7 separate regions of the Homo sapiens genome follow, and all the other regions are linked to region 1. The links are contacts of gene promoters, found by promoter capture Hi-C in blood cells and fetal thymus (Javierre and others, 2016). All regions are on one chromosome and are shown on one strand. Each heading gives the region's core, a stretch centred on a gene start or on the middle of the fragment in contact. The rest is flanking DNA. Distances are from core to core; before and after follow the strand shown. Region 1 holds the start of PLAG1 (PLAG1 zinc finger). Region 2 overlaps SDCBP (syndecan binding protein). Region 3 has its middle 10 kb from the start of SDCBP. Region 4 has its middle 8.8 kb from the start of NSMAF. Region 5 overlaps NSMAF (neutral sphingomyelinase activation associated factor). Region 6 overlaps LYPLA1-TCEA1 (LYPLA1-TCEA1 readthrough). Region 7 overlaps ATP6V1H (ATPase H+ transporting V1 subunit H).

The links. The method cuts DNA at HindIII sites, captures the fragments that hold promoters and counts their contacts. A CHiCAGO score of 5 or more calls a contact.
Region 2: a contact is called between a fragment that was not itself captured here and the fragment with the promoter of PLAG1 in region 1, in 1 of 17 cell types (naive CD8 T cells). The highest score is 7.8, in naive CD8 T cells.
Region 3: a fragment that was not itself captured here is called in contact with the fragment with the promoter of PLAG1 in region 1 in 2 of 17 cell types (neutrophils and naive CD8 T cells); the score reaches 9.0 in neutrophils.
Region 4: a fragment that was not itself captured here is called in contact with the fragment with the promoter of PLAG1 in region 1 in 1 of 17 cell types (activated CD4 T cells); the score reaches 5.9 in activated CD4 T cells.
Region 5: a contact is called between a fragment that was not itself captured here and the fragment with the promoter of PLAG1 in region 1, in 2 of 17 cell types (activated CD4 T cells and non-activated CD4 T cells). The highest score is 5.7, in activated CD4 T cells.
Region 6: a contact is called between a fragment that was not itself captured here and the fragment with the promoter of PLAG1 in region 1, in 3 of 17 cell types (activated CD4 T cells, naive CD8 T cells and naive CD4 T cells). The highest score is 7.3, in activated CD4 T cells.
Region 7: a fragment that was not itself captured here is called in contact with the fragment with the promoter of PLAG1 in region 1 in 1 of 17 cell types (total CD4 T cells); the score reaches 6.7 in total CD4 T cells.

Annotation. Positions count from the first base shown.
Region 1 is chr8:56,209,907-56,213,526 of GRCh38, forward strand. It overlaps PLAG1 (PLAG1 zinc finger), which reads right to left and starts at 1,367. Exons shown (of 5, transcript NM_002655.3): 1 at 1,215-1,367. CHCHD7 (coiled-coil-helix-coiled-coil-helix domain containing 7) reads left to right here and starts at 1,883. Exons shown (of 4, transcript NM_001011671.3): 1 at 1,883-1,931. RefSeq lists silencers at 1,352-1,911, 1,754-1,979 and an enhancer at 1,992-2,061. The HindIII fragment of the contact is 9,849 bases long and covers 1-3,256 here.
Region 2 is chr8:58,570,378-58,573,761 of GRCh38, forward strand. It overlaps SDCBP (syndecan binding protein), which reads left to right. Exons shown (of 9, transcript NM_005625.4): 3 at 510-588; 4 at 1,828-1,937. Among named protein-coding and RNA genes, the nearest start is that of SDCBP, 19 kb to the left of the region's middle. The HindIII fragment of the contact is 628 bases long and covers 1,368-1,995 here.
Region 3 is chr8:58,541,011-58,544,636 of GRCh38, forward strand. No RefSeq gene overlaps it. Among named protein-coding and RNA genes, the nearest start is that of SDCBP, 10 kb to the right of the region's middle. The HindIII fragment of the contact is 4,122 bases long and covers 1-3,626 here.
Region 4 is chr8:58,666,818-58,670,555 of GRCh38, forward strand. No RefSeq gene overlaps it. Among named protein-coding and RNA genes, the nearest start is that of NSMAF, 8.8 kb to the left of the region's middle. RefSeq lists an enhancer at 2,441-3,128. The HindIII fragment of the contact is 5,273 bases long and covers 1-3,738 here.
Region 5 is chr8:58,640,902-58,644,584 of GRCh38, forward strand. NSMAF (neutral sphingomyelinase activation associated factor) reads right to left here. Exons shown (of 31, transcript NM_003580.4): 2 at 2,083-2,172. Among named protein-coding and RNA genes, the nearest start is that of NSMAF, 17 kb to the right of the region's middle. The HindIII fragment of the contact is 282 bases long and covers 1,456-1,737 here.
Region 6 is chr8:53,985,809-53,989,730 of GRCh38, forward strand. It overlaps LYPLA1-TCEA1 (LYPLA1-TCEA1 readthrough), which reads right to left. Exons shown (of 21, transcript NM_001425842.1): 16 at 2,306-2,451; 17 at 1,161-1,217. It overlaps TCEA1 (transcription elongation factor A1), which reads right to left. Exons shown (of 10, transcript NM_006756.4): 5 at 2,306-2,451; 6 at 1,161-1,217. Among named protein-coding and RNA genes, the nearest start is that of TCEA1, 35 kb to the right of the region's middle. The HindIII fragment of the contact is 3,896 bases long and covers 1-3,527 here.
Region 7 is chr8:53,819,732-53,823,476 of GRCh38, forward strand. All of the region lies in intron 4 of ATP6V1H (ATPase H+ transporting V1 subunit H), which reads right to left. Among named protein-coding and RNA genes, the nearest start is that of ATP6V1H, 22 kb to the right of the region's middle. The HindIII fragment of the contact is 2,174 bases long and covers 336-2,509 here.

The DNA.
Region 1 (3,620 bases), core at 117-2,616:
CTATTAAGAAAATGGCATCACTTTTTTTTCCACCCAAAAAAACCCCGCAAAGATCATTAAAAGAGAGTTATAAAATAGCAAATATAGTGTTTATCTTATCTGAGATCAGTCCACATTACCAATAAGTTTAGCAGTTTCTGCACTACCACCTCCCCCCTCGCTCCCCCTGCTTCTCTTGCATCGGATTTTCACGTTTTCTCATTGTCGGTTGAGTTATAAAAGGCTTTTGCCCTTCGAAAGTTTTAAAAAATAAATAAATATTAACTCCTTGGTCCCTGCAAAGTCAAAATGGACTTCAGGGGAAAGGCGGTACATACTTTTACCTTTAGCGAGAAAAGGGGGAGCATCCCGGATTTTTAGGGATTTTTTGCGATTTTTTAAAAATTTTTATTTGGTTATATGCCTGAGTTCTCCCTCCATTTTGGTTGTTTATGATACTGACAACAAGCTGTCCCTGCTCTGTGCCGATCTCCTGCTTTCATTTAGCACCCCCTCCCCCTACCCCCCCTCGCAGCCACACACCCCGGGCTCACACCTCCCTGCAGACCCCGCACCCCGACCCCGGCTTGCCCACCTGAGGAAAGGGCAAAAACAAATTCATTTCTCCAGAAAAGAAAAACCTCTTTTGAAAAAGGGGCAAAGTTACCCCAAGTCACTCAAAGTGCCCCCCAAATATTGCCGACTGCGGGTTTCCGCCAGGCCCTTTGGGAAGCGACCTTCCCCCGGGATGTTTTGGTGGAAAATGCGGAGAGTTTACTCTCAAAACTGAATTTATATTAATTTTTCCCTTATTTTTCGGGTCTCTAATGTCTTCCGCTCTCGCTGCTGCCGCTGCCGCTGTCACAATATTCACAGCACCAGAGAGGAGGAGGAGGAGGAGGAGGAGGAAAACTTTTCAAACTTTCCAGACCCTGAATAAAGGTTTTTTTTTTTTTCCCACCGACCTCACCTTCGGGTCCCCAGCCGCATCGCCCCCTGCCCTGTCAGAAGCGACTTCGGGAGTCCTCGCAGCCCCGCGTAATTATTTTATTTTATTTTTTATTATTATTTTTCTCTCTGGGGTCCTGAGCAGGGGCTGAGAGTAGCACAAACTTTTCCTCCTCCTGCCGCCGCCGCTGCTCCTCTGCCCCCTCGGCTAGTCCCATAATTTAAATAACCCTGATATTTCTCCCGCTAAACGCCTCGCCGCCGCCCCGGACCCCCGGAGAACTCACCGCGGGGCTTTAACATCCTCCCTCCGGCCCGTCCGCCGCCTCTACACCGCCCGCGGAATTTCTAATAATTTTTTTCTCATATTTCGGGCTGGACGCGGCGGGCCTGGAAATTGTTTCCTTACGCCTCTTTCCAGCAGCCATTGTAGTGTATGCGCTGCCCCTGCAGCCCAACTTGCAGCTGCCGCCGCCGCCGCCGCCGCCGCCGCCGACGTCGCGCCCACCGCTGCCTCCCCCTGCCTGTTCGGCCACCGCCCCCGCCTCCCGTCGGCCCGCCCCCAAACCCCGCCCGCCGCTGCGCCCGCCCCCCGCGCGCGCTCCGCCCGAGAGCTGGCCACTCGGAGCCGCCGCTGGCGGGAGTTGGCCCGCCCATTGGGCCGCGACGCCGCCCGTCAAGCCGAAGTGTTAAGAGACGGGCCGCGGCTGGGGGGCGCGGTGGGGCGGGGGAAGAGGGGGCGGGGTCGCGCTCACCGCCCCGCCCACTCCTCCCGCCTCGGCCCTCCTTTCGCCAGGCGGGGGCGGGGCGAGGCCCGACCGCCCCTGCGGCCCAGGGCCCCGCGCGGCTGTCAGTCTGGCGGCGGCGCGCGCCGATTGGGCGGGCTGCCGCCGGGGAGCGGGGGCAGCAAGTTGGGATGCGCGCTACTTAAGGTCCTGCTGCGTGAGCCATTGACGTGTTTGGAGCTGGAGACGGCCTGGGTGCTGGCGAAGCGGAGGCCGGAGGTGAGTGGTTCCCCCGCCCTACCTCCGAAGCGGCCGCAGAAAAGCGGGGAGAGAGGGGTGCCCTTGGGCCGTAGCGGGGCCCGAATGCACTTCTGCGGCGCGGAGGCGCTCCCGCCAGGCTTCGCCGCAGCGCGGACCTCTTCCCGTTGCTCTTCCTCCCGCCACACGGGTCTGTTCGCTCCGGGGGCGAGGAAGATGACCTCTGCCTAGTCCGGGCAACCCCAGCTCTTCTTCCACTCTCCTGTGTAGCCTCTGAAGCGCAGTTACCGGCCCCACCCCCAGTTCCCTGCGTTTTCCTCGCCCCTTGTCTCTCTCGGCATGGTCTCGGCACAGCAAGGTGTGTTCACCTGTGCGCGCCGTCCAGGATCAGATGCTGACGGGCTACACCGCGGAAGGCGGCGAGGCCTCGGGTTCGCCCTTCGTTTCTCCTTGCCCTGCGCGCCCACCTCCGGCAGGCCACCCTTGACTTCTTGCCCCCTTCCACTTTGCACCTGGCAGTGGGTTAACGGCACGGCGTGTGCAGCTTCCGGGTTTAGCAGAGCCGCGGACCCTGCCTGGGCTCCGACCACGGGGCGTGTGGGCATGAACGTGTTCAGAAACGTTTCCTTCCCCCTGCCCTTTCAAAGCTACTTAGAGAGGGGGGACGTGAACCACTGGATGGGAAATCAGGAACTGCTTTATTAAGCAGTTTGCCCTTTGGAGTGGATTTTAGAGTTATCCCCTGAATGTGCTATGGTTTTGTGGCCCCTCCTTCATATCTTTGCTTGGTTTTTCTTTCTGGTTATGCTCTGCAAGTAGTAGAGCCTTGTAACATTTATTTAGTACATTCAAAAAGTAATAGACAAGGCCCCTTTAGCGGAGCACTCGATGTTGTAATTCAGCCCCGCTCCTCACTGTAAATTGACATTTCCTCTTCAATTCCAGTTAATACACGAGGAACTCATGCAAAGGAGGGGACTTTCGGAAATCCAAACTTAGAGTGCCTTGTATTTAGAATCCGGAAGGAAAAGGAAATGAAATGTGAAGAAACTCATGCACCAAACTCGAACTGGGTATATGTGATGTTACCTAGGTATTATTTTTGAAGAATTTCTGACTGACAATAAAATATAGAGTAGGATACTTTCATGTAAGGCACGAAACTTAAATTTAATGCAAGGTTGTCTGATCCTTGTTGAGATTATTAAATCTAAGGTGTATGAAGAGTTCTGTGTTCTCACATCATAGGATAGGTGTAAAAAAGAAAGCTGTGAATTTATTTACTATCATCATCTCTCTTAGGAAGAAGGGAAGTGTGGAAAAAAATTGTCTTCAGGAGAGGAAGAAGCTTGTAGATATAATTGAACAGCATCTTGATTTCTTTTTTGCCAAGATGTTACTGTTGGCTGGTTATTTTCTTGTATTGTTCAATGAAAATCATAAAATTATTATTCAGTGATTACTTAATGGACACCAGAATAACCAAACCCTTTTCCATTCTTTTTTTTGCAAAGGCTGGTCTCCTTTGGCCTGGACGTCCTGATCTTTCCCATAGTAGAACTGGGCTGGGTGTCTCTTTTTTTTTTTTTTGAGACGGCGTCTTCCACTGCTGTCGCTTGGGCTGGAGTGCAGTGGCGCGATCTCGGCTCACTGCAACCTCTGCTTCCCAAGTTCAGGCGATTCTCTTGCCTCAGCCTCCTGAGTAGTTGG
Region 2 (3,384 bases), core at 432-2,931, 2.4 Mb after region 1:
TTTAGCATAAACCCCTTCCTATACTTGCTGCAATGAAGATAAAGATGATTTCAGTGGGACATGCTTAGTATTAATTTTTTAGGTGTTTTTCTGATATGTGACTTTTATATGAATATGGGTAAGGTTTTTTCTTATGCAAATAAAATATTTTTACTTGGACTAATTAGTAAAAGAATAATGAAAATGTAAAATTTATTCATTTTAGAATGCACTTTGAAAATATTAATTTATTGTGGCAGCACTATGAAGTGCTGGTTATAAGACATGTAGAATGGTACTTCTACAATTTTTTTGTGATAGCCTTAAAAGTATTTAGAATATCAAATATAGTTTTGATTTGCAGATTTCCTTTGGAAAATGTATTGCTGATGTGTTTGAAATTAAACTTTCTTACATAAATCTTCATTGTTTTAGTTTCTTTTTGGAAGTACTGGATTTAGCTTATAAATTATATAAGAATATAAAGTAAGTATAGCATATTGTTAGAATTTTCTTCTTTTCTTTTTCAGGCTCAAACTGCTTTTTCTGCAAACCCTGCCAATCCAGCAATTTTGTCAGAAGCTTCTGCTCCTATCCCTCACGATGGAAGTAGGTTTATACTTTGAGTTCATTCTCTGTGAACAGAAATATTGTTATCTTCTTTTGCTCATATAAGGAATCCAAGATTTTTTTTTGGACAGGCTGCATAAAATTGGTAGTTAAGCTCAAATAGTTATGAATAAGAAAAAAAAGTTTACTTCAAAAAATAACCCTTTTTCTAATTAAGATAGTGAACTGTGGATATGGGGATGTATTTCATGGCTTAATGAAAATTAATTTTAGACTGACTTGTAAATCCCTAACGTGGCTGATTCATTTATGAATGAATTATATATATGAATTCACATATGAGAACTATATGAATTCACATTTAAGAACTATCATGCTGCTGCTGTTGAACTTTCTGAATTGTCTTCTGTCTTTCCTATGGGAGCTTCTGAAATTTCCAACCACCTCCTCTTTGGGAAGCCTCCTAAATCTTAAGGCCTTTATTCATTCTCTGTATCCTGTCTTTGGTCCCTTTTTCTTCAAGGTTCAGAGGGATTCAGGACAGAGCTCCTAAATACTATGACTTAAGATACAAAATAAGTGTTAAATAAGTTTTTGTGGCCTGTCATTTTGTCTTACAACAGTTTATAACATTGTGCCTCATAGAAAATTCATTTTAAGTCACAGATAATTTAAGTCTCATGTAAAAAAGAGCTTTTGGAAATAGTATATAACTACTAATAAGTGAAATAATGTTAATATTTAAAAATACCATTTCCAGGATTTCATTGGAATGTGGTTAAAATTATTAAAATGATAAGACACTAAATAAATTTACAAGCTTCCAAAAAAAATTGTTCATAAGAATCATTCCATATCCCTGTTTACAGAATGAGTTATAAAGTAGCTGACTTGACAAATAGATATTTTGGTCAGTTGTTCTGAATTGGAGAATCAGTGGCATTCTTACTAAATTCCTAATCAAGTAAGTTTATTTTAAGAAACAGGAAAGGCAAGATAGTTTATTTGGAAAAGTTATTTCTACTTTTGAGTGTTTAGGAATCTCTGGTTGTTTCAGTTCAGATGTCTTCATATTTTACGAATTTTAAACATTTTCTGTATTTTCCATTTCTCATTATTACAGAGATGGGGAGATGCCTTTCCAAATTGCTACTTTAAATTCATTCTAGATTTTATAACTTAAGTGTAATTTTGTTAATACGCAGAAGCCCATAATGAGAGAAGTTTTCATTTTGTGTATTCTGTAAGTGCTTTTTAATTTATTCATTTACTTTTTAGATCTCTATCCCAGACTGTATCCAGAGCTCTCTCAATACATGGGGCTGAGTTTAAATGAAGAAGAAATACGTGCAAATGTGGCCGTGGTTTCTGGTGCACCACTTCAGGGGGTATGTATAGTGTAATTAATTTTGATTTATATAAAATCATACTTTACATGTTAGTATAAGCTTTCCTCTTTGTGGCTAACTCACAGATATACTACTAGCATTGAACCTCACTTCTCAGAAATTTTAGACTTCCTTTTGGATATCATTTCTTATATAGTCTACTTCATTTTGTGCTACACTGTTTTGAGTTTATTAGGACTTAGATTCAGATACCTTTTACTAGTTCGTTCTCCTTTGTCTTCTGCATTTAGTCAGTTACTAAGTCCTATTGATTCTGTTTCTGTTTCTTGTATTCATTTTATCTGTTTTTTATCCATTCTAGTCCTACTATAACCATATTCAGGGTTTCTATACTTCTAGCCTTCATTATTATAGTACTCTCTTAAATTTCCTCTAGTAACTTATTTCAGACAGTACTAAGCCGCTGCTAAGTTAATCATTCTGAAATACACATATAGGTCTATCATATCTTTGTTGCTCATAATCTTTTTTTTTTTTTTTTTTTTTTTTGAGGCATAGTCTCACTTTGTCACCCAGGCTGGAGTGCAATGGCGTGATCTCGGCCCACTGCAACCTCCGCCTCTTGGGTTCAAGCAATTCTCCTGCCTCAGCCTCCCAAGTAGCTGAGACTACAAGCGCGCGCCACCATGCCTGGCTAATTTTTTGTATTTTTAGTAGAGACCGGGTTTCACCATGTTGGCCACGCTGGTCTCGAACACCTGACCTCAGGTGATCCACCTGCCTCGACCTCCCAGAGTGCTGGGATTACAGGCATGAGCCACTGTGCCTGGCCTTTGCTCTTAATCTTTTAACATTCTTTTTGAAATTCAAAGCTCCATGTAATTAGACTCCAGAGTCTAGCTTAATTATAATGGGTCTGATAACCTTTTATTAAGGTTATTGCTATGACCATAGCACTTTGTACCACTTATTATAATTGTAGTTAAATCTGTGTCTGTCTTGTTGCCATATCCCAATGCATATACAGTACCTGGCATTTATGTATTTACCAAATATTTATTGAAAACTTGCTTGTGTTAGTGGTGATGCAGTTGGGAAAACAAATAATAGTAGGTATTTTAAGAGGTTGAAAAATTGAAAAAAACATAAATGGACATAGATGTAATTGCAGATAGCTAGCTGCTTCTCCTAGGACTGGGATAACACAGGAGAGAGATTGGAGTTAGCAGAACCTAGAAGCTTGAGGAAGAGCCCCACGGAGCTGGGACTCAGACCTTGGATGAGGGGACACTACTAGTGCCTCTGAGGGGTTGTAATGAGGCTGGTTCTGGGAGTGTCAGTAAAAGTTGCAGACTGGAACCAACTGCTGCTGCCAGTGTAAAGGGCCAGGCTTACACAGTACTGACAGGAGCAGGAGGCACACAGGAAGGAATGAGGTGCTTGTCATTCCAGTCACTGACAAACGAAATTATAATTTGCACAGTTA
Region 3 (3,626 bases), core at 489-2,988, 2.3 Mb after region 1:
GCAATCCAAAATCTAGGGGTGGTGTATTCCCTAAAGTATTTCAAAGAACAAAACATCCAGTTTGTTCTGCTACCACATATGTTTTGGTAATGTGAATTAGCTCATACAAAACTGGTAAATGGGAGAGTGATATTTATCTAATAATGTTGAAATTGTTTTGGTTGATATGCATGTATCCCAGTATGTGATTTCCAAGAAATCAGGGGGGAAACTTTCTAAACAATTAAAAAGCAAGCCTTAGCAATATGCAAACACCTTAAGGAAAAAACTTCTACAGTGGCACCTTTCTTTATTGAAACAAAGGCTGGGTTAGTGGTTTCAGGAACTGCTATGTATTTCATGATATTAAGCTATCTGGTGAAGTGTGAAGACAGATAAAGAAGCTGCAAAAAGAAAAAAAGATGTTTGTTTGAAAACATTAGGAAGGCCCCTGAAGCAAATTTTTAACACTGATAAAACTGGCATTTTGAAAGTAAATACCCCTACATCTCAAAAGAGCAAGCCCCTGAGTTTAAAAGCTACTCAGGGTAGGCTGCTAGTGGAGATTGACTGAGCCAGTATTTTATAAATAGAGGCTTATTGTTTTTGTTGGTGTTCTTGTTATAAAATTGGGTGGTATGGTCTGTCCATAGCCCTATTTGTGCCATATGCCCAGTTATTTCCAGTGTATGCTTTTGTAGAATGCAAAGCTGGGTGTGAATGCACATGTGGTTTTACAAAGACATGGCTGTATGTAAGAAAGCAAGAAGACTGGCTTCAGAGCAAACTATAACTGATACTCTTTTTTCACATCTTAACATCAATTCTTCAGTCAGGGTTGGCTTTTTAACCTGCTTCCATCCATAATTTTATTTAACAACTAGAATCAAATCTTGAAAAATGCAATGCCTTAAGCATTTTACCTTTCATGCTTCCTTTCTCAGAAAGTCACTAGAGGACATGCTCATCCAAAATGAGGCAGTGAACAAGGGACCGCAGGAATCAGGGACTCAGCATAGGAGAGCGTGGAATAAAGACCAAGATGATGGTGAACTAAGTCCCAGGAAAATAGCTGTGTGGACAACTGAAGCACAAACTGCTCAGACTGGGCTCTGGAAAGGGAGCTTCTGGGGGCGACTAGAACTGAGGGACTATCTGATATTTAAAAAGTAATGTCTAAAGGTGTTTTTCACAGATATATTGGGAATGCCAAGAAGAATTAGCTGTGAAAATATGGAGAGCTGATGGTACTTTTATTTCCCACTAGGTAGAATGGATCATGTGTCCTAGGTTGGCTCTTTGGGTTTAAGCAAAAATGGATGTCATCCTGTTACTTTTCAAAAGTCCTGGCCAGGCACGGTGGCTCACGCCGGTAATCCCAACACTTTGGGCGGCCGAGGCGGGTGGATCACCTGAGTTTGGGAATTCAAGATCAGCCTAGCCAACGTGGTGAAACCCCGTATCTACTAAAAATACAAAAATTAGCTGGGCGTGGTATTCGGCACCTGTAATTCCATCTACTCAGGAGGCTGAGGTACGAGAATTGCTTGAACCTGGGAGGTGGAGGTTGCAGTGAGCCAAGATTGCATCACTGCACTCCAGCCTGGGGGATGGAGCAAGACTCAGTCTCAAAATAGTAATAATAATAATAACAAAAGTCCCAGTAAAAACCCGGTAGTTTTAATAGATTTACTTGCAGTAAACACATGGAACACCATCCTGCTTTTGTGCCAGTGGCCTCACTCCAGGGGGTTGTTCTATCTCCCCAAAGCATGGTCAGGAAGCCTTATTGCTGCACCTCCCTCACAGGTGCAAAACACAGTAAGAGCGCTATGATTTTGATTGTGCATGTGGCTCTTCTCAAGTTGTGTGTCCTCTATGCAAACCTTTGGTTTTACACAATGACAAAACACTTATTTCTCCTAATTCCTTATGCCCAACTTAGATCTTGATCCTGAAAAATTCTCCTGCTCATTTGATACACCTTGTATGCAGATGTTAGGTTTATTGGTGAGCAGGCTTCTCTTGTCAAGGTTGGGACTTCATAGGGGCAATCATTGATGGGGTTAATCCTCAGAGAGGAAACTAGAACTAAAATATGTGCAGGATGAGATAGGGAAATCCCATCCGTTTCTGGCCTCGTTTTATTGCCTTTAATTGAAAGCTGCCTCTTACCTCATGGTTTTGAGTTACTTCATTGTGTAATCTTTTTGAAGGCATGAATTTCAGCAAAAATTAGGAATCCCTCGTTTATGTTAGAAATTTCACTGTTGAGCACTATAAATGCAAACAATGGAACTGAGGTGACAATCTGCTGAAGGGATACCTTTGGAGTCTGGCTGAAGGTCGCATGTGGGTGGGTGAAGGAAACAGTCTCAACTTGCTTTTCGGCCCGACAGTGGGAATATTCTTTTGACATTGATAATTTCAGACATCTTAAGTTCTGAATTGTTAAAATGGTTTTTAAAAATGTTGCTCTTAGAAACAAGAAAATACGGTAATTCTAGAAGCAACCCTTTTCAGTTCCTCAGGCACTGTGCCAGGCATCAAAGACCATTTAAAGTATAGCCCCAGCCCTCAAGAAGTTCTGGTCAGAGGAAAGAATGATTGATACCAAAGAAACCACAGGGAAGAAAAGTGAAAAAAAGATCACTTCTGATTCCATGTAAAATTATACAGTTACGAACTATATTAATAGCTGAAGGATAAGGCTGATATCCAAAAGTCAAATAAATTTAATTCCTAATTATCCACATACAAGAAACTAAATGAATGAAAGAAGCAATAGTAATTTTCCATATAAATATAGTTGAGAAATTATGCATTACCCTGGCCGCACAAATACAACTGCTATAGTTGACTCTGAACATCTGGAACACTTCTGGATGTGTAACTTGGAACCGAGGATATGGCATTCTTTTTAAGGGTGTGTGTATTCACAACTTAGGGAAGAATCCCAAATTGAATTCCATAGTTAAAAGCAAAAACAAGTTTTAACACACTGAAAGAGTACACTCCTGTCTGGTTGAGAGAGATCAGCCAATAAATGATGGATCCCCGGGCAGCTCAAATGCCAGTGTGGCACGTTTCCTATGGAATGTGGAGGCATTCAGAGACTTAAATGATTTTACTCTCTCAACAGAATCCAGATGCTCTTAAATATTACAGATATTATTATAAATTAAACAATATAAGTAGCCAGAAAATATTGTAGTTAGGGTTTCTATAAAAATTGTTTTGAACACTGATGTAGAAAGAGCTGTATCCTTTTTCCCAACATGGCTATTTCAAACTTGTGATAGTATATTCTTGTATATTATTGATCACCTCTTTATATTTTCTGTTATAAACATCCTATAAAGTATGCTAATATATTTGTTAATTTCTCTCCACATAAATATTCATAATGTCCTGTCCAAGAAAGTAGAAAATGGGACCTTGAAATAAAACAAATGACCCAGTCAACAACTAAATCTCCTTTAAAAAAAAAAGTCACAAGTCAATTTACCTTTGCTTTAATGGTTTTTGGTAGCCCCATAAAATGGTCTTATTTTGTGAAGGGGAGACATTTCTAAATATGTAAAATTTGTTTTAATTCTTTAGGAAAGCAGAATTCAACACATCTTTGAAAGAAAATCCAAATGCTG
Region 4 (3,738 bases), core at 397-2,896, 2.5 Mb after region 1:
TCAGCCATAAATGATATGAAGTCCTTGCCCTTTTGGAACTTACCTTCTGGTAAGAGTGACTATTTAAAAAGTGAATAATGTAAATTTAGGTAAGGATAAGTATCACAAGAAAAACTGAACCACAGTAAGGAATAGAGCATGAAGAGGGTGAGAACTTCTTTAGATAGGGGGTCAGAGAAGTCTCCTCTGATCACTGATATTTCAGCTGACAACTAAATGAATTAAGAAACTTGAATGTGCAGATCCTGAGAAAAGGCATTCCAGGTAGAAGGAATAGCAAGGTCAACAGCCTGAGCCAGCACTTTAGTGTCTAGAGCACACTAACGGTGAGAGATAGAGGCAGCAGGGCCCAGACCACAGGACAAAGGTGAGCACTGGATTTTTTCTTATTATTTTTATTAATGTGTGACACAGGCCACTGGAGGGGTAAGAGCAGGAAAATGACATGATATGTTTTACATTTTAAAGTTTGACCACTGCGTTACAAGCCTGAAAGAAGCTCAAAACTTACATGGACAGCAGGAAAATTTAGATAGAACTGTGATCAGCTCTTTCCTCTTGCACATTTTGCTTAAATAACAAAGGGAATTGTATGAGTCTGGGTTCTCCAGAGAAACAGAACTAATAGGAGTTTATATATAGGAGTCTGGAATGTATATATCCAAGTCTGAGCCCAAGAACCTGAAAACCAGGAGAGCCCGTTGTATAATCTCCAGTCTCATCCCAAGCCCAGAGGCAGAAGAACAATGCCCCAGCTCAAAGACAGTCAGGCAAAGAGAGATTATTCTCTCTTACTCCACTTTTGTGTCCTATTCAGGCCTCCAATAGATTGTTTGAGGCCTCTCTACATTGGGAGGGCTGTATGCCTTACTCAGTCCACCAACTCAAAAGGAACCTCCCCCACAGACATACCCACAATAATGTTTAACCAAACATCTGACCCCATGGACCAGTCAAGTTGACACACAAAATTAGCCATCACAGGAATTTGTAGCTCAGGTACCTGGAAATCCGAAGTATCGTATACATCAATGTTCGTTAATCCAGTGGCTCAATAAGTTCATCAGAGACACAGTTTTTCATCATCTTTCTGTTAGGCCTTCCGCATAGTTAGCTGCCTTCTAAGTCTGGTTCCCTTCCCCTATGGCTGGTAATAGGTAGCTTCTGGTATTTGGCCAGCTGCCTACTTTCTCCCTCAGGGTGAGAGACCTCATCCAGCCCAGGCTGGCTAGCAAGTATCTAGAGACTCCCTTGATTGTCCCTATTAGTTCACATGACTTCCCCAAATCCAAGACTGATGAGGGAAATGAAACATTCTCTGAGACTCTGGGCCATCTCTAGAATTGGAGGTAGAAGTTAGCATTCCCCAAAGTACATGAGTTAAGTAAGAAAGGGGTGGAAAGACAAATGAAAATGCGTGTGTGAGTAGGAGCAGGTCCTGGGGCAGTAATGAGATTTGAGACATTTAAGTCACAGCAGACATTGCGTGTAATCACTTATGTTTTCTCATTTTGGCAATGCCGGTGCAAGCCTCCTCTTCTCCCTTTCATAGTTATCTGGGCATGTGAGTTAGTGTTGAAATTAATGGAGGAATAAGACCTCACATTTTTTTAAGAGGATTTTTTTAGATGATTTTTCCCATGCAGTTAATACTGTTTCTGAGGTTCTGTTTTTTATGTCCAGTGGGAAAAAATTAAATAGGAGCTGTATATGCCCATATTGGCATCAATTTTTCCTCCATGGGTTCTATACAGCTTCCAGAGGGCATCTGTTATCTGTCACCTGCACAGTTTATCTTCCTTGCTTGGGTAAAGATTAGGGTAATTGCTGAAGTCATCCCTCATTTAAGATCTTCTCCCTTGTACTTTATAAATCCAGCAATGTTTTTACTCTGCATGTTGCTAATCGGAGATTAGTATAGATTAGGTTAGAAGATAAACAGGAAATTATAAATAAAACCATAATTTTAAGATATACATACATTGTATGCCCTAAAATACAGAAATGTCAACTTCATAAAAAGTAAGTGAAAATTACAACAAAATGAGATACTATTTTCAGATATCGATGTGACAAATATCAGTACTGTCAATGGTCGTGTCCAGTGCTGAAGTGCTTAAACACTATTGATGGAAGTAAAATTGGTAAATTTCTCTAGTGTAAACTGGTAAATGTTTAGTAACCAGCAAGTTGGAAGAAAACAGGCTGATTTGGAGTGTTTGCCAATTTCTGTCGTGTAAAATACCCCCACTATGGCCAATTTCATGTTACCAACGTGAAATCACTGAATGCAGAGCTGGGAAGAGATGTATACAGGTGAACTGGCTCTTCTGGAAGGCAATTTAAATATATCACAGGATTCAACAAAATTTGTTTTTGTTTTGTTTTTGTTTTTTGACACAAGGTCTCTCTCTGTTGCCCAGGCTAGAGTGCAGTGGCATGATCTCAACTCATTGCAACCTCTGCCTCCCGGGCTGAAGCAATTCTTTGACCTCAGCCTTCTGGGTAGCTGGGAGTACAGGTAAGCACCACCACACCCAGCTAAAAAAAAAAAAAAAACAAAAAAAACTTGTACAGACAGAGTCTTTCTACATTGCCCAGGCTGGTCTCTTGGATTCCTGGGCTCAAGTGATCCTCCTGCCTTGGCCTGTCAAAGTGCTGAGATTACAGGCGTGAGCCACAGTGTCTGTCCCAGTTTTATGTTTAATCAGTTAAAAACCAACAGTAGGGCTGGGCGCGGTGGCTTATGCCTGTATTCATACCACTTTGGGAGGCCGAGGGGGTCAGATCACTAGGTCAAGAGTTCGAAACCAGCCTGGCCAACATGATGAAACCCTGTCTCCACTAAGAATACAAAAATGTGCTGGGTGTGTTGGTGTGTGCCCGTAATCCCAGCTTCTTGGGAGGTTGAGGCAGGAGAATTGCTTTAACCTGGGAGGCAGAGGTTGCAGTAAGCCAAAATCGTGTCACTGCACTCCAGCCTGGGCAACAGAACGTTTCATTTCCCTCATCAGTCTTGGATTTGGGGAAGTCATGTGAACTAAGAGAGACAATCAAGGGAACCTCTAGATACCTGCTACCTAGTCTCGGTTAAAAAAACAAAAACAAACAACCAACAGTAATCCAGTTTCTACTAAGAGGTCAATGGTTAAGTAAATTGTTATCTATTCAGTAAAATAATATGTGGTCATTTAAAATCCTGTTTCTAAAGAAGATTTAATTACTTAGGGAAATGACTACAATGAATTTGTGAAATATTTGGAAATGATATATTTTATATTATCTCAACATATCTTAAGTGTACTAAAAATTTAGCAAGTGTTTATAGCAGTTATTTCTGAATACAGAGATTATGTTTTCTTCTTTATACTCCTACGTATTTCCCAAAGAATATAGAAGTGCCCCTTATTCACAGTTTCACTTTCTGCAGTTTCAGTTACCTGCAGTCAACAGCAGGCCAAAAATATTAAATGGAAAATTTCAGAAATAAACAATTCATGCATTTTAAATTGCTAGGTGTTCTGAGTAGCATGATGAAATTGCATGCTCTCTGTTGCTGTCTGGCTCTGTCCCACCGGGGATGTGAGTCCTCCCTTTGTCCAGCATCTCCATGCCACAGATGTTCCCTGCCCTTTACACACTTAGTAGCCACCTCAGTTATCAGATGGAAAAACATAGTGTGTATAGGGTTCGGTACTATCTGAGGTTTCTGGCAGCCACTGGGGACCTCAGAAGGTA
Region 5 (3,683 bases), core at 347-2,846, 2.4 Mb after region 1:
TTTCTTTTTTATTTTTATTTATTGATTGATTTATTTTTGAGACAGAGTCTTGCTTTGTCACCCAGGCTGGAGTGCAGTGGCATGATCCTGGCTCACTGCAACCTCCGCCTCCCAAGTTCAAGCAATTCTCCTGCCTCAGTCTCCCAAGTAGCTGGGATTACAAGGGTGCACCACCACGCCTGGCTAATTTTTGTATTTTAGCAGAGACGAGGTTTCACCGTGTTGGCCAGGCTGGTCTCAAACTCCTAGCCTCAAGTGATCCACCAGCCTCGGCCTCCCAAAGTACTGGGATTACAGGCATGAGCCACCACACCTGGCCTTACTGTTTCTTTTTAAATTTAATTCTATATTAAAAATCTACAAAAGATGCCCTCTCAGCCTCTTAGCTAAGATAAAGTGTAGTAAAAATCTATAAAATGTTTATATGGTTCCAAAACGAAAGTTACAAAATAAGGTACATTTGGAGAAGTCCTCATTCCATCTCTATATTGTTCTTCTGATCCTTCCCCTCTTCTGTGTAGATAACTGTCTCCACTAGCTTTTAGTTTATGCCTCCGATTTTTAAAAACATAGTGATAAATCTGCCCCCTTCTGACAAAAGTAGCTTATGACACACAGTATCCTGTCCCTTGCTTTTTACACTTAATACATGTAGAGATCACTTCATAGCATTACAAAGAACTTCATTCCTTGTTGAACCTGCATAGTACTCCATCATGTGGCCATTTCTTATCAGTCAGTTCAGTCAGTCTCCTGTAGGATTGTTCCTAGTCTTTTACTAGTACAAGTAGTGCTATAATAACCTTGTGCATATGTCCATTTATATAACTGCCAGTTCTCTTTGAAATGGTATCCTAGAAGTAGCATTGCTAGATCAATAGGTTAATGCACATGTCATCTTACCAGATATTACCAAATACACCTACATGGGGCTGTACCATTTTGCCCTAATAGTTACTTTAAAATTATAAAAACAGGTTTCAGTTTGCTACCTGTAGTTGTATTTTAATAATAAACAAGTACATTTAATTTTAAGCAAGGCACTATGATGATATACGATAGAAGAATGTTGGAAGGAAAAAAGATATGGAATTAGGGAAAAGAATATGAGCAAAATTCCAGAGATAAGAAAGCAAGGTGCTGTGTTCAGGGATGAATAATTGTCTAATTTGATTGAATGCCAAGAAAATAGATATGTCATAAGCTACTAAACAAAAAAACCAAGTGAGTTTTACTTTAGCTTGTATTTAAACAAATACCACATGTTTTTGATCCGTTAAGGATAAACCTGAAGAATAATAAAAATAAGTGGATTTATCTACTGTCAAAGAATTTCCTAAGTTATGGCTTACAGTTGTTAAGTAACCTCCCAAAAGGAAATCATTAGCAGATACCTTTTTGGTGGAACAATTTTCATCTTAGTTAATTCTAAGTTGCCATTTTAAGCAAACAAAAAGCTTCATTACATGCTTCTGTACATAGCTTTCAAAAGGTAAAGTCAAAGAAACAATCTGTTTTTATAGTAGTGAGTAATAGTTATTAAGATACTGAGAAATCAGATCTTGCTTCTAGTTCAAATCGCATGACTCATTTTGAAAGTACTGATTTTATACCACTCTTGTGGTTTATAATCATTACTTTATAACATTGTCACCCGAATAATTGAGAGCAGAGGATACTGCATAACTACAAGAGGGATGCAACAAAAAAATGATGGGATGGACTGGAGTCCTATCAAGCTTAAGATATCTACAACCCCAGAATTGGAACAAATGCTTTTTAGCTTTGAAAAAGGTTTCAAGTTACAATTATAACTTTTAAATACACTCTTCTCATTACTTCCCTAATAAGAGAAAAGATGAAAAAAACTTCATGGGAGATAAAATAATAAACATAGCAAAAACTCTCCAAAAGACTCTCCTAGGTTATAATCCTCAATAAAAGTCTAAATAAAATTTACTTTAATTTTTTTTAAAGCCTAATTTTTTCTTTAGTTAACACCTATATGATCACACATTTAACTTTAAAAGTTCAGATATCAGAAAGGTTTGTTTGTCCAAGGAGATACCGAAGCTTCCTTACCTTTCATGGTGACTGCCCTTGTGCAAAATGTGATTGGCTCTATGCTGTTCAAAGTAGTACTCCTCCAAGTTAAGCAGCAGCAAGGAAAATCTGGATTTGGGGCGAAAAAACAACTTTCAGTTTATTTTTTAGTAAGTATAAGAAGGCAATATATTTAAAACGTCTGATCCCAAAAAGCTTTTCCATTCTTGAATTTAACAAACATTTATGAAGCATGTATATCATGCCAGGCAGTCCTCTCTACCCAGTGGCGGGAAGTACATAGCTGGGCTTGCCTTGTGTCCAAATAACTACTATGTCAAAAATAAAATCACTCACCAGGTGGATGTACTACTCTTTTACAGAAACCCTGAATTTTGTGAAGTTAAACTTATCCTTATCTGAACAAAGCTCAGCGCTTTCCTACTTAGGGAATTTTGAGCATTTGTTTCCCCTGACTGAACAATGCTAGGCTTCCCCACCTCTTCCCTGTCATACCTCCCTGCCCCCAACATCTGCCTCATGGTTATCTGAGTTACTCCCACAAGAACACATGCCTCTAGGGACAGATCTTTTTTTTTTTTTTTGGGACGGAGTTTCACTCTTGTTGCCCAGCCTGGAGTAAAATGGCGCAGTCTCAGCTCAAGTAACCTCCACCTCCCGGGTTCAAGTAATTCTCCTGCCTCAGCCTCCCAAGTAGCTGGGATTACAGGCATGCACCACCATGCCTGGCTAATTTTGTATTTTTAGTAGAGACAGGGTTTCTCCATGTTGGTAAGGCTGGTCTCGAACTCCCAACCTCACGTAATCCACCCACCTCGGCCTCCCAAAGTGCTGGGATTACAAGCATGAGCCACCGGCCCAGCCAACAGATCTTTAGATATTCCCTTGTGATAACCAGCCCATGCTGTCTACACAATGGGTGTTTAATAAGTAAAATGAGTAAACCAAACTGAATGGGATTGAAATATAGTTCTTTTTAAAGTTGAAAGTCATTTAAACTTTTAAAAACAAGAGAAGTCATTAAGAAAAATTATTAATTTTGTTGTATGGCTACAGCAACAAATACATGACAAAGAAGTGAAAACAGGCATTTTTTTGTTTTGTTTTGTGATAAGGACCAGGAAACATCAATGAGTTACAGGCAAAAGCTTTCATGAAAAGTGTGGGACTTGAGATGGGCCTTAAGTTCCAGTGTGTTGGAGGAAGAAATTTACATTAAACATGGCAGATTACACATATATGTTTATTTCACTGCCTCTTGAAACACCACTACAATGTGAATAAAACTATTTTTAAATGGTAAAACCCACAGGCTAAAGCAAATTGGAGAGATATTAAAGCAGAGAAGAGACATGAACAAATCTGTGAGAAATGGAAAGCAGACCGGGGGAATAAGCAGTGCTCAGAAATCAGAATTTCAGATGCCTCCAGAGAAGGCACCACTCAGGAGAAAACCAGTTCAAGTCACCGGACTTCCAAAAAGTTCAGAAATTGCAGGATCAAGTGCTAGAGACGATGTGGAGAAATAGGAATGCTTTTACACTGCTGGTGGGAGTGTAAATTAGTTCAACCATTGTGGAAGACAGTGTGGCGATTCCTCAAGGATCTAGAACTAGAAA
Region 6 (3,922 bases), core at 330-2,829, 2.2 Mb before region 1:
CTGAGGTCCCCCTAACTGAGAAGTCTTCACATTTATATGTGTGTGCTTTCCATGCCCTTTTGCACAACTTAAATTCAGACACTACAGTCTCAATCTACAAGGCAGAAAAATTTAAATGTCATAAATGCCATCAATACTGTACTTTCCTTTTCAATAACAGGAAAAACAAGACAAATAAAATGACATAGATGTCCCTCTCCTTTCCAAGAAAACAATACAATCAAGATAAAAAGTGAAGAATAAGACTTTGAATTCTATACCAACAGGAAAAATTAAGCTAGCAGATTACTTAAAACAATTATGACCACTTGAAGTTGTGTGACACCAAGAGACCTTTCTGGCTGGTAGCAGAAGTAATAGATGTCACTCCTCAGCAGTAGTTTTGAAAGCCAGTATGCAATTTATCCATTTTACCTTCTGCCACATCACCACTCACAATGGCCAATCCACCTGCCTGGTCCTAGAGGACAATGACCCAAAGCCCAGAGTCCTCAGCTAGCCTGTGATGAACATATAGGACAAATACATTCCTGTTTGTCCAGTTTAATCTGTGAAAGAAACCTCTGTGGTGTTAAGCCACTGAAATTTCAAGGTTGTCACCATAATATAACACAGCCTGTCCTGCCAAGTACATAAAGTCAATCTTGGACACTCATGTTTTGCTAGGAAAGCGAAATTCTTTAGGTTTTCAAATTGCCAACGAGATACACCCAATGTTCTCATGTATTTTGTAATCTCTTCTAATTATGTTATCGGTTTGCCTTTCTTGTTCTCAATCATATTTTCACTCTCCTGCTATCTGAAGCAATTTTACTAGGGATTTATATGTTTCAGTTTCCAAAGAGCCAGGTCCTTTTAAACTTCGCTGTTTCTAGTTCATTCAGCTTCAACATGAAGGAAAAAGTCTAGCGTGGTGGTCAAGGTCATGGGCTTGGAGCCAAATTCCCTACAATGGAATCCCAGCCCTGTCAGTGTCAGGCTGTGTGATCTAGAACAATGACCAATCCTCTTCTGCTTCTGTTTTCTCTCTGTAAAATGGGATGAGAGCACCTAATTCATTGGAAGGACTACTGCATGTAAAACCGTGCCTGGCATTTGCATATGTTCAATAAATATTACTTATTAAAAAAAACAATTATGAATATACACACAAAGGATATCTTCTTCAATTTGAGATCCTAATTCTTCCTCATCAGCTCCAATTGCAATGTAGTCATCTAAAAATAGGCATAAAGAATTGTCAAATTATTGTAACAGATTAAAAGAAAATTCTAATACCAGGTAATTAAACTGCATTCCTATTTCTTAAACCCCATTTGCCTGACATAAAGAAACCGTTCAGTTTAGTTCGTTAGAATCTGATCACTTCACTGCCCGCTAGACTTCTTTTCTGGGCTTCACCTGATACCCACAGTGCTCCTGCACTGATGATTCCTGATCCCTCAGGCACAGGAAGTAACTGATCTAGCAGGCAATTCATTTTTCGTAACTCCATAAATTCTGGCTGCTCCAGCAGAGTAGAGAAAGTTACAGAAAGAACTGTCTAGTCTCCTGTGACTCAGGCTTCAATGCAAAGAAATCATTTAGTTAATCTGCCAATCACATATACAGACACACTCAGAAGACTGCTATACAAATATGCAAGAGGATAGAAGGAAATAAACTAGGCAGAAAAAATAAAAGAGACAGTCAGGAAATCAAAGTAGAAAGGGCAGAGTAAGGAGAAAATCAGGTCAAACTAGCCATGGTGCAGAATGAGAGAAAAGAAAAAGGATGAATTCGTATAAAATAACAAATATTCCTGTATATAAAACTTTAAATCCAAATGTTACATGTTAAGACTGGATACTTTCAAATTAAATTAAGCTCCCATATATAAATCAAGACTCACCCTCCCTTTTTCTAACTAGAAAATGGAAAACATTCATACTATATGTCATACTATTCAACAATTCAGTATTGTTAACTCTCAATATAAGATCAGGGTATGTAGTTTGCAGATTAAATTGTGGGGAAACAAAAGATTTGTGAGAAAAAAGTGTACATTACTATGAAATCAGGGAAAACATCCATGTATTAGAGGGAATCTATTTCTTACAATTACATAGTAATAAGCAAATGCCCCAGTATTCCTCCTCCTCTCCCCCTTAACAGACCCGTATCAGCAACAACTTCTCCCCAAGCTAAGCAGCAGTGGGTGGGCTATCCACAGGGTAACACTCATCAAACAGCAATATGGAGTTGGAGATGGCAGTGGTTGTGGGTGGTGACCAAAGGACTGAGAAATAACATGCACTGGACTTACCCCCTGTTCGAAGAGCTGCAGCAAGCATCTCCCTACACTTCAACCGCACAGAATCAGAAGTGCTTGGTGCCCGAGGAAAGGATGAAACATAAGTATCTCGAGCATTTGTCTCATCCTTTCTGTTGCTTACATTGCCGCTGGAAGTACTGAAATACGCACAAACACCCCAAAAAGAAATCAAGAACAATCCTTTCAAAGTAACAATACTACTATCATGCTGTAAAAACAAAATTTGGGGTCTAAATAAATGACACAGTATCTCAGTGACCTTTATGTGATGGAAAAAAAATTGCCTGCATACAGATTAAAAAGAAGTTAAAAATTTTACAATTTAGTAAAGTGACAAGTATGCCTTTTTTTTGAACTAAACATTTTATCTTTGATTCTCATTTTAAATATTAAGCAATATTTTTAATAGAGAAAATACCCATTATAGCTCAGTACAATAAATGAAAAGCAATGATCTTGGTATAAGGAGAGGGATGAAGGGATGGGACCAGAGAATGACAGCTTTCTTTTTTGAGACGGAGTCTTGCTCTGTCACCCAGGCTGGAGGGCAATGGTGCAATCTCGGCTCACTGCAAGCTCCACCTCCCAGGTTCACACCAGAGAATGACAGCTTTCAACCAAAACTAGAGATAGAGAGAGAGAATGCTTGAAAAACTCTGTTTCACTGGGCATGGTGGCTCACAGCTGTAATCCCAGCACTTTGGGAGGCCAAGAGAGGCAGATCACTTGAGGCCAGTAGAGTTCAAATCCAGCCTGGGCAAAATGGTGAAACCCCGTCTCTATTAAAAATACAAAAATTAGCTGGGCGTGGTGGCACACGCCTGTAATCCCAGCTACTTGGGAGGCTGAGGCAGGAAAATCGCTTGAACCCAGAGGCAGAGGTTTCAGTGAGCCAAGACTGCACCACTGCACTCCAGCCTGGGTGACACAGCGAGACTCCACCTCAAAAAAAAAAAAGAACAAAAAGAAAAAGGAAAACCTTGTTCCACTTAGACAGTGAGTTCCCCAGTGAGACAAATACCATGTGTACTGATGAGTCATGAGGCTACAAAATGGTGTGTTTCTCCCCAGAAACATCACCTCGATATGAACATTTAGGCAGTTTTATAATTTTCCAGTCAACCTAATCCTTTCAATTGCTTCTGAGTAGCTTCTTACGTTGGATTATCACTAAAATGGGTTCTTTCCAAAATAATCTTCATGATTACAATTAAGCTTTATCACATTGAAAACAGCTGCCATAACCCTTTTCAAAGACTGATTAAATCATCCACCATCCATAGATGTGGTTTGCTGCAATGCTACAAGAACATACTCCCTTGCCTTCTCTCCAAAACATAACCACTGTTAAACTTCACAAACAGGTGCCTGTGGGTCAGACGGACATTAGTACCTTTTAAATTTAGTCAGTTCCTTTTTGAAGCCTTCACTGATTTCCCCCTGTATTCCCAAAATATTGATTCACACAGGTTTGTATATGATAACTTTTCATACATTTTCTTCTCTATCAGACTGAGTTTCTCAAGAGCAAAAACTAGGATTTACTTTTCTTTGTATTTTCATTATGTAGCATAATGCCTCTCAGTGATAAATGAATGAGCAAACTAA
Region 7 (3,745 bases), core at 173-2,672, 2.4 Mb before region 1:
TAGTATATAGTGTGTGTATATATACACACATTTGTATATACATAGTATATATATATGCTTTGTATACAAAGTATATGTGTGTGTGTGTATATATATACACACACACACACATACATACATACATACATTGAACTGGTGGATGAGAATAATACCAGCTACCTAAATCTGAATCTCTCCACTGATCCTTCATAAATAAAGGTCGACAAAAAGATCAACTAAAAACTACACAAAACCCATGCCCTCAGGATAACAAGACAGAGAATACACATTTGTAATTAACCATAATAAAAGAAACACCAAATCCCAACAAAAGCTATCTCTCATACTCCATCACAAGCTTTTGTGGATGATAAAGTGCATCTGAAAAATGTGTGTAGAAGGAAGGATATGGGCACAGGAAGGAAGAAGTTCTAAGGTGGATCTACAATCGCCACCATAAAATAAAATAAACTCTAACTATGAAGAAACTGAAAAAGAGTACTGGTAGACCAGAGCACGAGCTACAGGGAGCAGGGAGCAGTCTTGGAAAGGCATCATTTTTGAGAGATAATAAGGTTTAAAAAAAAAGAAGAAGAAGAAGAAGAAGCATCTTTAGGAGATTGGGTGGCAAAAAGAAAAAGGAACAAAAGAGGAAACTTTAGGGTTCTGCAAGACAAAATGAGACCAAAAAAAAAAATCCAAGGGCATACAATCTGCCCCCCACCAAAAGAAAGTCATCTATTAAAGAAACTGCCAGCCTTGGCATATAATGAGACCCTAATCTCTACAATTAAAAAATTTTTTTAATTAGCAAGATGTGGTGGTAAGCGCCTGTAGTTCCAGCTACTCAAGATGCTGAGGTGCGAGGATCGTTTGAACCCAAGAGTTTGAGGTTACAGTGAGCTATAATGGCGCCATTGCATTCCAGCCTAGGTGACAGAGTGAGATTTTATCTCAAAAAAAAAAAAAAAAGAAAAGAAAACAAAAGAGGCCAGGTGCAGTGGCTCACACCTGTAATCCCACAACTTTGGGAGGCCAAGGCTGGCAGATCACCTGAGGTCAGGAGTTCTAGACCAGCTTGGCCAATGTGATGAAACCCTGTCTCTACTAAAAAAACAAAAATTAGCCAGGCGTGGTAGCACACGCTTGTAATCCCACTACTCAGGAGGCTGAGGCAGGAGGATTGCTTGAGCCCAGGAGGCAGAGGTTGCAGTGAGCCAAGACTGTGCCACTGCACTCCAGCCTGGATGACAAGAGCAAAACTCTGTCTCAAAAAAAAAAAAAAGAAAAAGAAAAAAGAAAAGAAAGGAAGGAACAGGAGAGAAAGAGAATAAAACAAACAAACTGCATCTCACCAGAAAAAAAAAAAAGAGAGAGAGGCCAGGTGCAGTAGCTCACGCCTGTAATTCCAGCACTTTGGGAGGCCGAGGCAGGTGGATCATTTGAGGTCATGAGTTTGAGACCACCCTGACCAACATGGTAAAACTCCATCTCTACTAAAAATACAACAAAATTAGCTGGGTATGGTGGTGCATGCCTGTAGTCCCAGCTACTCAGGAGGCTGAGGCAGGAGACTCATTTGAACCCGGGAGGTGGAGGTTGCAGTGGGCAGAGATCATGCCACTACACTCCAGCCTGGCCAATGGAGCAAGACTCCATCTCAAAAAAAAAAAAAAAAGAGAGAGAGAGAGTCCAGGTGCGATGGCTCACACCTGAATCTCAGAATTCTGGGAGCCAAGGCAGGCAGATTTCTTGAGGCCAGTATTTCGAGACCAGCCTGGGCAACATGGCGAAATCCCATCTCTACTAAAAATACGAAAATTAGCTGGGCACGGCGGCACACGCCTGTAATACCAGCTACTACTACTCTGGAGGCTGAGGCATGAGAATCACTTGAACTTGGGAGGTGGAGGTTGCAATGAGCTGAGATCGTACCACTGAACTCTAGCCGAGGCAACAAAGTGAGACCATGCATCAAAGAAAAAAAGAAGAAAAAAAAATGGTACTCTTGAGTGAGGAGTATTATAAACCACCCAAATCCATGATATGAATAGATGAAAGAACCCCACACAGATACAAAACTACCATAAAAAGAAACCAAAAGATGCAAATCAAAATATCTCAGGTGATGAAATTCCTCTCCCAAGAAAACAACTGCAAAACAAAACTGTAACGTAACAATGCAAACTGAATTAAATATCCTCAAACATCTGGAAAAATAAAATACCACCTTGAATCAGAAATTCAAAACCAAAACTGAGAAATCTGCCCCTAATAAAGGAAAATTTAAAAATAGCTGATTGAGTTCAAGAAAGAAATGAAAGAAAAGAGCAAAATGGTCTCAAAAAGTAAAACTAAATTATAAGGTGTTCAACAGAGAACAGACTCAAAAGTCAAAGAACTGTGAATCAGAGATCCTCTATCAGCCAAGCTGCTCTTCAAGTATGAAGATTACAGGAAAAAATTTTAATGCAAAAATTTAGAGACTACTGTACACATAAGACATTCCTGAGGAACCTACTAGCAGATAAGCTTCATCTAATTAAGAGATCCCTGGGAAAACTTTGGCAAAAGAACCAGTGGTGAAAATTTAATATAACAAAACAAAGGTGGGAACAAGTGTAGAATAATAATATATAAATGTTATATGTTCTGACAAAGTAAAAAATAGCCACTAAAAAATGAGAAGAGAGGAAAAGTAGAATAAGTTCATTGACTGTTGCAAATAAAAAAATACTATTAAAAATGACAAGTGAAATTATAAATGAATAAAACAGGGGATTAACAGCATTAAAGGGATATAAATACAAAGATAACCAACAGAACAGACAGAAAACTTCCTAAATGCCAAAAAAGTTTAATAAAAATGCAAACAAAACACATAATGAAGAATAAAATAGTAATGCACACAGTAATCATAACACAGTATGACAGTTGAGATCAAATTTCTTAGTAATATTCATAAATGTGGATGGTTTAATTCACCTATTAAAAAAAGGGGTTTCAACTCACAAACAAGACCCGAATCTATACTGTATACAAAAGACTTACCTAAAACAAAATGATTCACCTAAAAAAGGGACAGGCAAAGATATGCAGACAATCAGAAACAACAAGAAGCCATGAGTTGCTATACCAGTATTAAAGTATAATTTAAGCCAAAATGTATTAAGTATGATAAAAGGGACACTTTTAATGATAAATGCCACAATTCACTGTAGATATAACACTAATGTGTATATATGCACCAAATACAGCATCCACCTTTATAAAGTGAAAAGTACAAAAGATATTAGAAAAGTAAAAAATGCATTTATAAGGGGGAGACGTTTAACATACCACTCTTAGTACAAAAAAAACCAGACCGAGAAAAAAGTAGACAAAAAGTAAAGGTATAGAAAACCTGTATCCTAAATAATAACATAATCAATAAAGTAGATCTGATAAATATAAATCAAACTTATACCCCTTAAGAAAGAATACATCTTCTCAAGGACACCTGGTATATTTATAAAATTGATCATATACTATAAAAAAAGTATCAGTAAATTCTATAAAGTAGAAATGTTTTTAAAACATGATATTTTGAAATCTATAACAAAATGTTTTAAGCATTTCTGCCTGAAAATTAAAACATAAATATTAAACAACCCTCTGTGAAAGGGAACGCAGAAACTGGATTAAGAAAAACCTAAATCACTACATATCAGAGCTGAAGGATATACTTTAAGCAGTAATCAAAGGAAAATGCATATATTTAAATACT